3 separate regions of the Homo sapiens genome follow, and regions 2 and 3 are each linked to region 1. The links are contacts of gene promoters, found by promoter capture Hi-C in human tissues and cell types (Jung and others, 2019). All regions are on one chromosome and are shown on one strand. Each heading gives the region's core, a stretch centred on a gene start or on the middle of the fragment in contact. The rest is flanking DNA. Distances are from core to core; before and after follow the strand shown. Region 1 holds the start of MYOCD (myocardin). Region 2 has its middle 160 kb from the start of MIR744. Region 3 has its middle 180 kb from the start of LINC00670.

Region 1 (3,039 bases), core at 358-2,857:
GGTTAACAGATCAACCGCCTCACCTCACCATGGAAAGGAAAGGAAGGACTTAATCCACTGCCGACCCCAGTGGCTGGCGGACTCATCCCAGAGCTTCAGGGGCAGTGAGACTTGTGACCGCCTAAGCTCTTGAGTTTTCAACTTGCATCAACAATGAAGATCCTAAGAAAATCTCCAGTTGACTCCACAGGCATCTAAAAACCAAGGGCATCTAAGAAAGTCACAGATGAACCTTACCTCCCAGCATCTACATTTTTCCTTTTTGAACCATCCATCCCAAGTGAAACAACTGAGTTGGCCCCATGTAGAAGGGCTAAGGAAACTTTAGCTTAGCAACCTATGCCAGCATCTTTCTGACACCTGTTATGTCTAATGTTCACATCAGAGTTCTCCTAAAAGTCATCAATCTAAGTAGAAGTCCTACATTGTTGAGTGTGTTGTTAACCAGTTTTCTAAAACCAACATTATACACAGAGCTACTGAAAAATAACTTCAGAAGTCAAGTGTTGCTTTGTCTAAACGTGGAGACCCACACAGACACCTTCCATGGGCGCGTGTACAAGCCCTTCTGGAGAAGCGGTTAGAGCTCCCGTCTCTCCCTTCCACTCACCTCCACTCAGCGTCCTTTGAGAAGTTTCTCCATGTGCCACTAACACAGAAATTTTGGGGGAAATTCTCTATTTATAAATATCAGATGGTTTGGGAAAAAATATTTGTGGCACTGGGCTTTCTTTTTTTTTCTACAGTGATGTCATTTTAAATACTTGGTGTGCTCCAAATTTGCTATTTTTACTTCCCCCAAGTGACTTTTTTTGGGAAATACATTTGTTTGGATTAGCTACATTTTAAGTGACCCCTGTACCTAACACACAACATCAGGTTCATCTTCTCAGCGATTATAACCGATACTACGCAGCTTCCAAACTTGAAATCCCTTATTTGTTCATTTCCAAAGTTGCTCCCTCTGAATGTACCCCTCCAAAATTTCTATTCATAGATGCAGAGAAAATAAAATAAAAGGATTGGCCTTTTCACAGATGAACAACCACACTCGACCACCCAAAGCACTTACAACGGAAGACACGAAAGGCCCCCAAAGTCAAACAAAACTCTTCGCTTCCACAATGTGCTTTTGGGGAACAAAGTTGAGGTAGACCTGGCAGGCTTTGAAACATTTATTGGAAAGCAGTTCTAGAGTTGAGAATTGCAGAAGAGGAAAGTTTAAGAAGGAATGCTAAATGCCTTAGCCCTACCTGATCTGAACTTGCTCCTAATCAGCAAGGAATGCTCAGACCCCAGGAGTGTCATGTTGAGTCTCAGCAAGCCGCTGGTCCCTTGGCCAGGCGCCCCCTGTTCTCCACCAGCAACAGGCTCCCGGGAGCCCAGCTGACCGCAGCTAACAACCCAGAATTCATCCAACTCTCCGTGAGCTCCCCTGGGTAGGAGTACAGTGGCAGCCAGTGTCCCCAGAAAACTGGCGCCTCCCCCCTCGCCGTGCGGGGCTAATTAACTCTTAGCCGGCGGGACCCTCCTCCTCCTCGGAGGTTGGCCAGGAGCAGCGCGGCATCCCAGGCGTTCCTGTCTGATGTCATAGGCTGCCGGCGATTGCGGAGAATCGCCACCACGCCTTTATGAAGGTCCCAACTTTGCCATCTGATACCCTTTACTACTGACAGGCGCTCAGCCAATCAGGAGCGGCGAGCGGGGTCTGGGGACCCGGAGCCGCCGAAGCCGTCTCGGGAACCGGCTCTTAACTCTTTGCGGCGGGCCCCGCAGCCGCCGAGGCACAGAGGGCGGGAGCAGGGCCAGGGGTCGGGAATCTGGGAGAGGGGCGCGAGCTAAAGAGCGGATGCCCGGAGGAAAGAAGGAAGGGCTGCGACGCCGCGGGGCTTGCAGGTGGTTCGCGGGGCTGCGGCAGCCGCTGGGAGCTCCGAGGTCCTGGGGATGGGCGTGCGCAGCCGGGGCTTCCCCGGCCGGGCTTCTGCCGGCGAAAGGGAAGCGGCCGGGATCTCCCGCCAGCCGGCTGCAAAGGCTGCGCGAAAGGGCGTGCGCGCCCGCGGGACAGTTCACGCGGGGCAATTTGGAAATAAGCTGGACCCCTGAGAAGAAAAGCTTCCGACGGACCGAAGCCCACGCATTCCCCTCGGTTTGAGGGGCTCAGGGCACTGGCAGAGACGATTCTGTATCTCGCAGCTCCAATACTGGACTTAGATGCATTTCCACGGGGAAATGGAAAGGCTTTCATTTTCTAGGATATGCTTTTTGGGGGGACAAATGTGACACGGCGCATCTGGAGATCCAGCTGCGACACAACGCTCCCACCTCACAACCCCGAGGGAATGGGAAAAGATACCTGAGTTGGAGTGAAAAACCTACTGGGCTCTAAATAGGGAGGGGCTCTGGAGCAGGGGGCAAGTCAGAGCTCGGGCTGGGCTTAGCTTGGGAAGGCTCAAAAACTTTGCCTGCGAATGAGTCTCTCCTTAGGGGAAAATCCATTCCGTAACCGACCCAGAGTTATTTGTGCATCTGGCCGAGGTGTTATAGGCACATGGATCAATGAAATAAAACAAAGACCCATCTCTCAAGAAGCCCGTTAAATAGTTGGTGGCTCAGAACATAAAAACCACTCTGTATACGTATATAATTAGGGCTTATTTGCAACTTCATATGCACGTGGACCCCGGGTGTCGTCTATTACACACAAGCCTGCCTGCATACTACGAGTCCTTAAAAGATCAGTCGGTGACAGATGGAGACCCGAGGTGACAATAGCTCATGGGGACAACCTCTAATGTCCTGGTCCCGGCCTCTGCCCCATCCCCTGTTGCTGAAAACACATTAGAGGGGTTAGCCCTAGAGCTTACTCTCTGGATCTGAGCGGGGCGATTTTGTAAATAAGGTCTTCAGGGATAGACACCTTCTTGCTGATGTGTCAGAGACGAGGAAGAACAATCCATCCATGTTCCCTTTGGGGATCTAGTCCTGGCCTGGGCGCCTGTCTATAGGCTGATTTCGTGTGCAGGAGCATCTCAGCGATTA
Region 2 (3,039 bases), core at 176-2,675, 430 kb after region 1:
TAATTCCTGGGCTGAAGCAATCCTCCTGCTCCGGCCTCCCAAAGCCCTGGGATTATAGGCTTGAGCCATCACACCCAGAAGAAATCATGAAAATTCTTTTAAAAGGTTTTTAAAATTTTACCTCCAAAAAGACTTTAGGCCCAGATGGTGTTATCAGTGAATTATTTGGAACTTTCATGCAAACAAACAAACAAAAATGTCTAAGTCATTCTAAAGGATGGAACTAGAAATCACAAATCACCTAGTGGCTCAATTCCAATGAATAGAGAAGAAAAGACAAAAATGTAACTTTATAATGAAGAGGCCTTGCCAGCATTACCTTCACTAAGTGACCAAGGTTCCCTCTGATACAATGTGATGAGAAGGGCGCTTCACGTCTATGGCTGCGTTCCCAAAAATCCATAACCCGGATCGAATTAGGAGAAAAATACAACAGACAAACTCAGACTGGGGGACAGTCTACGGGATGCCCAGCCAGTACTCTTCAAAACTCTCAAGGTCATTAAAAACAAAAAAAAGTACTGAGAAACTCACAGACCACAGAATTAGTATCATGTGGTATCCTGAACTGGATCCTGGAATAGAAAGAAAACACTAATAGAAAAAACGTTGAAATCCAAATAAAGTCTGGAGTTAATTCAATAGTAATGGAGCAATGTCTGTTTTTCAGTTTTAACAAATGTACCACGGTAACATACAAAATTGGGCGGGGGGTATCCAGGAATTCTTTAAACTATCTTTACAATTTTTATGTAAATCTAAAATTATTTCAAAATTAAAACTATAAGTAAAGAGTTAAAGGGGAAAATGTTTATGATAATCTCAATAGATACAGGGGAGATGTAAAGCAAAAAATAAAATTTACAGTCTGTGGCCTAGATGCTTATAGGATCTGTGAGGTGTGACTACACTCTAAGAAACTCCCGTCCATGATTTCAGGGGAAGCTGATAAGCTGGAGGCATGGAACTCCACCTAAGGTTAAGAAGATTAAGAGTAGTATTTGAGTTTCCCCTATGAAAGAATGAAAACTTCGGGAAATCAGACCAAAATCAGACTCCAATTTAGGGACCCAACCCCTAACTACTTCTAGTGAGTGTTCTCTTTTATCTTTTTCTTCCTCTGTAAATTTTCATCAAGGCAAATTCTAAAACCATTCTATGAAAAGTGTAGGATTTCTGGTACCCTCACATCAAAACCAGTCTCTTGTTTAAACCACCTCAATAAAACATGCCCAATTTCAGGACTCCTCCCCTGACCCCACCGGCACCTCTGATACAGTCATCTGGATATAATCTCCAATCTGTTCTCTCCCTTGCACATACCTGGCAGTAGAGGCTCTCTTTAACATTGAGAGGTGAAGCCAGCTGGGCTTCTGGGTTGGTTGGGGACTTGGAGAACTTTTCTGTCCAGCTAAAGGTTTCTAAAAGCACCAATCAGTGCTCTGTGTCTAGCTAATAGGGTGGGGACTAGAAGAACTTTTCTGTCTAGCTAAAGGATTGTAAATGCACCAATCAGCACTTTGTGTCTAGCTAAAGGTTTCTAAATGCACCAATCAGCACTCTGTAAAATGGACCAATCAGCAGGATGTGGGTGGGGCCAAATAAGTGAATAAAAGCAGGCCACAGAGCAAGGGTCAACAACTCGCTGGGGTTCCTTTCCTCCCTGTGGAAGCTTTGTTTTTTCACTCTTCGCAGTAAATCTTGCTGTTGTTCACTCTGGGTCCCCGCCACCTTTATGAGCTGTAACACAGCGAAGGTCTGCAGCTTCATTCCCGAAGTCAGCAAGATCAGAACCCATCAGAAGGAAGAAACTCCGGATACGTGGGAACATCAGAAGGAACAAACTCCGGACACACCATCTTTAAGAACTGTAGCACTCACTGCCAGGGTCTGCGGCTTCATTCTTTTAGTCAGCGAGACCAAGAACCCACCAATTCTGGACACAACATGACCCCCTTTATTCTCTAAGATGACCAGCTAGCTAATCTCATTAATCAGAGCCAACTCATTTTTCACTATCAACCTTTAGTCATTAAGAATTACTTAGTTGCTGGGTTGCTGCCTGAAACCCACATTTTGATTCAGTATATGTAGGCAAGTATCAGAAAAAAAGAAAAAAGTGACTTTAAAATAAAAATGCAGAGGCATTCAATGTGTGTAGTGCTTGCTGGCCACAGCAGTTACTACCAAGGAGTCTTCTGGGAGGGACCACTGTGTTGAAGGAGGCTCCTGCCTGAGGGAGGGCATCAGGCAGTGGGCTCTGTAAAGCGAGAACCAGGTGGACGCCTTCTGTGCCCAGCTCAGAGTCCTGCACCATGCCAGGAATGCCTAAGCCAAGGGCTACTGACGCAAGTTCCACTCATTCCACTCTGTGTGGGGGGACCTTGCGCCTCTCCTGGAAGGGCTCTTGGAGAAGGAATTGGAGTTACATACAAGTGACCTAAATGGGAAGCTTTTCTAGATGAGACTGGATTAAATTCATATGGTTTCTTTTTCCCTTTAATTCAGGTTGGGACTCGTTTCTTTCTGCTGGATCACAGCTGCCCAGATGTTGCAACCGATTTTTATTGTTTCTGTAGAGAAGTATTTTTCTTTCATCCTCAAGTTTTTTTTTTTTTGTTTTGTTTTTTTTTGAGACGGAGTCTCACTGTCGCCCAGGTTGGAATGCAGTGGCGCGATCTCGGCTCACTGCAAGCTCTGCCTCCTGGGTTCACCCCATTCTCCTGCCTCAGCCTCCCGAGTAGCTGGGACTACAGGTGCCCACCATCACGCCCAGCTAATTTTTGGGGGATTTTTTTGTATCTTTAGTAGAGACGGGGTTTCACTGTGTTAGCCAGGATGGTCTCGATCTCCTGACCTCGTGATCCACCCACCTCGGCCTCCCAAAGTGCTGGGATTACAGGCGTGAGCCACCGCGCCCAGCCATCTTCAGGATTTTTTTTGCCACCAAAAGAAAACATTGGAACTCTGTGTTTCCTCTTGATTGTGACTTCCCAGTGGTAACAGTTAAGTCCTTAGTGTCGTAGGTCCCTATATCAC
Region 3 (3,039 bases), core at 234-2,733, 290 kb after region 1:
TTGTTGTAAATACTCATTTTCCTTGGAAAATTTTTTGTGAAACTTCTTTGAAACGGAGGAAAAGATAATTTGCTTTTGCCTCAGCCAGGTGTTGGGGGCACTACTAACTAATTCTGGACCATTTTTAAATGAATTAGCAAATCAAGTTGTAACTGACAACCAGGTGTTCTGGATGTGTTTGGGAAATCCACACAAGGGAAAGATTGTGATTACAACTTCCTAGGGATAGTTTTCACCTGTTCTGTTCAATGCCAAACAAACAAACATTTCCCTGCAGTCCCCTGGAACTAGAATGGAAAATTTACATCTAATTCACTTTCCCTTAAGGGTTTGACTCTTAGGGATCCCCGTTTTATGATAGAAGCATCTTCTCTTAGATGTGCACTTTGAGCAGTCTTTTGAGTTTGTTTGTTGTTTCTAGTTTGAATACCCTTCAGTTACAAAGAATGTTTACCTATTTGCCAAATGCCCTCAAGGATAACGTTGCTTCAAGGCTCTGCTTACTTCTCTCAGATCCTTTAGACTGTGGCCTCCTAATCTCTTACAACCTGGTCATTTCTTTGATGCTGTTAAGCATAATTTTTAATGAATATGTTCTCCATAAATTTTAGGTTTTAGCAGGAGAATTGGTCCTAATAACATAACCTGCCATAATATTAGAAAGCACTAAATAAAGATTCTTGGGGAAAAACAGACAAACAATAAGAGAAAATCTAATATTGACCTGAAATTTAAAGTTCTAAACTATGTCTTAAAACATAGGAGTTAGAGGACAGGGTGGAGGGAGAAAATAAAAATATTCTAATTAGCATTGGGGAAGTAGGTCAGTAAGAAAGCATCTTAATGGGGAAAGGTGGGAGTTTTGTACTTCTGTAGAATAGTGGAAAATATACATGATTAGGAGAGTCAAACATGAAATGCCACTAGCAGAATGAAAAAAATACAGTCGTATTTTCAAAAGATAAGAAAAAAATAGAATGAATGACAAAATCAGCTACAAAATAAAACTAAATAAAGGAGAATCACAAAGTAAATAAATATTAAACATAAAGATGGGCCTAATAAAATTAAGTATCATATGTTAAAGTAAATGTGGATAGAATGAATTATCCCATTAAATAACTAAGACTGTCATATTGAGTTAAAAAACAAAACCCAGATATATGCTGTTTATAAGGAGAATTCTTAAAAATGGAAAAGAAATTTTGAAAATAAAAGGATAAACAGAGAGATGTCAAGCAAATGCAAACAAAAAGAAAGCAGGAGTGACAATATTAATATCACACAGGGTGGAACTTAAGGTTAAAAGCACTAAACAAAATACAGAGGAACATTGTGTAATAATAAAAGACAATTTATGAAGAAGAAACAATAATCATAAAGCTGCATGTCCTATAAAAATATAGCACCTAAGTATACAATATTATTAGAGGTTCAAATAATTTTTGGCTTAAAAAACAACTATCATGAAACAGTTCCAATGATTTTTCCTTCTGAATCAGATGGTTCTGGTATACCAAAAAAAAAAATAAAAAATAAAAACTAAAGTTATTTGGGCACAAAAGAACTAAGGAATATATAAAGACATATATGTTTTCCCTCATGTCCATAGACCCTCTACTGAAATCAATTACATAATTGGCCACAAATAAAGCTTACAAATTCAAAGAGGCAGAGTGTTTTTAGGCTATATTACCTGAATATAATCCAATAAACTTAGTTAGAAATAAAGAATATGAGTGGAAAAAACCTTTAATAGTTGGAAATTAGGAAACATACTTCTAAATAACTCTTGGAACAAAGAAATAGGAAATCAAAATTGAAAACACAAGCTAGCTGGATAAAAAAAAAAAAAAGAATATATCATACCAAAATATGTATAGCTGTAGAAGCTATCCTGAAAGGAAAATTAATAGCCCTAAATGCTTTTATTAGTGCAGGTAAGAATTAGAGCTAATTTATTTGAAAATAGAACTAGAAGAAAAGTAATAAATAAATCAACAAGTTTGATTTGGGGGTAAGAAGAAACAATAAAATAGGCAAACTTCTAGCAAATGCAATCAGGGAAAAAAGCAAAACTAAAGAAAGTAAAATTAAAATCAAGACATGGAACATAGTAACAAATGCAGAGGGTAAGTAAATATCACATTCCAATCAATCCATACGATTTCTAACTGATGAAATTCATCATGATTTGAAAACTGTGAAATCACTAGAATGTTTCTCCCCAAAGCCCTGTAAACCTGAATAGATTAGAAGGAACTGAAAAGATGTTGAAAAGATGTTCAAAGAATTTACCATCTAACAAGATTCAGGGCTAAAAATGTGTCAAGAAGAGAGCCAATGTACTAAAGACCAAAAATATTTAAGACTATATAAACATTTCAGGGTCCTGATCCATTATTTAAATTTAAAAAAAACTAATTATTGTAGCAGAAAAGAGAAATTATAGGCCATTCTAATGTATGAAGTTTAAAAAATCCTCAATCAAATACTCAGAAAAAGAATTCATCAGAAAATTAAAAGAATGCTCTTAACAAGATTTAGCTAAAGGACATAAATGATTTAATACGAAGAAATACAATAATTAAATGCACCGCACTTTTTTTCTCAACAGTCATAAGGCAATCACAAATTCACACGATAACTAATAAAAATAGAAATAAAAACTATTAATAAAGGAAACTTACTTTAATTGTAAATTATAAAATGCTGTGAGGGGTCTTTTAGAAGTTCATGAAAATGCATATTATGAAAAAACTTTGCATGGATTTCAAAATTTTTTTGCACCACGATAAACTCATACTAACTTGTTATAACATGTCTGAATAAGATCCACTGTGAGGCACTAAGATGAATATGACATCAATTTGAAAAGTCCTTATCAGAACAACATGAATTCTGCTAAAATTGAGGCAAGAACAAAATCAAATTTATGGTAAAGCTTTTGTAGAAGAATAATGAAAAATAGTTGATTCTTTATGAAAAGTTTACGGGGACAATGCCCCAAAGAAAACAGCAGTTTACGTAGAAGAGCTT

The links. Contacts are between HindIII fragments. The study calls those that stand out against the background at their distance.
Region 2: a fragment that was not itself captured here is called in contact with the fragment with the promoter of MYOCD in region 1 in 2 of the 25 tissues and cell types used here (H1 embryonic stem cells and heart left ventricle).
Region 3: a contact is called between a fragment that was not itself captured here and the fragment with the promoter of MYOCD in region 1, in 1 of the 25 tissues and cell types used here (dorsolateral prefrontal cortex).

Annotation. Positions count from the first base shown.
Region 1 is chr17:12,664,458-12,667,496 of GRCh38, reverse strand. MYOCD (myocardin) reads right to left here and starts at 1,607. Exons shown (of 14, transcript NM_001146312.3): 1 at 1,254-1,607. The coding sequence starts at 1,308. The HindIII fragment of the contact is 11,548 bases long and covers 1-3,039 here.
Region 2 is chr17:12,237,775-12,240,813 of GRCh38, reverse strand. No RefSeq gene overlaps it. Among named protein-coding and RNA genes, the nearest start is that of MIR744, 160 kb to the right of the region's middle. The HindIII fragment of the contact is 6,907 bases long and covers 1-3,039 here.
Region 3 is chr17:12,372,864-12,375,902 of GRCh38, reverse strand. No RefSeq gene overlaps it. Among named protein-coding and RNA genes, the nearest start is that of LINC00670, 180 kb to the left of the region's middle. The HindIII fragment of the contact is 4,594 bases long and covers 1-3,039 here.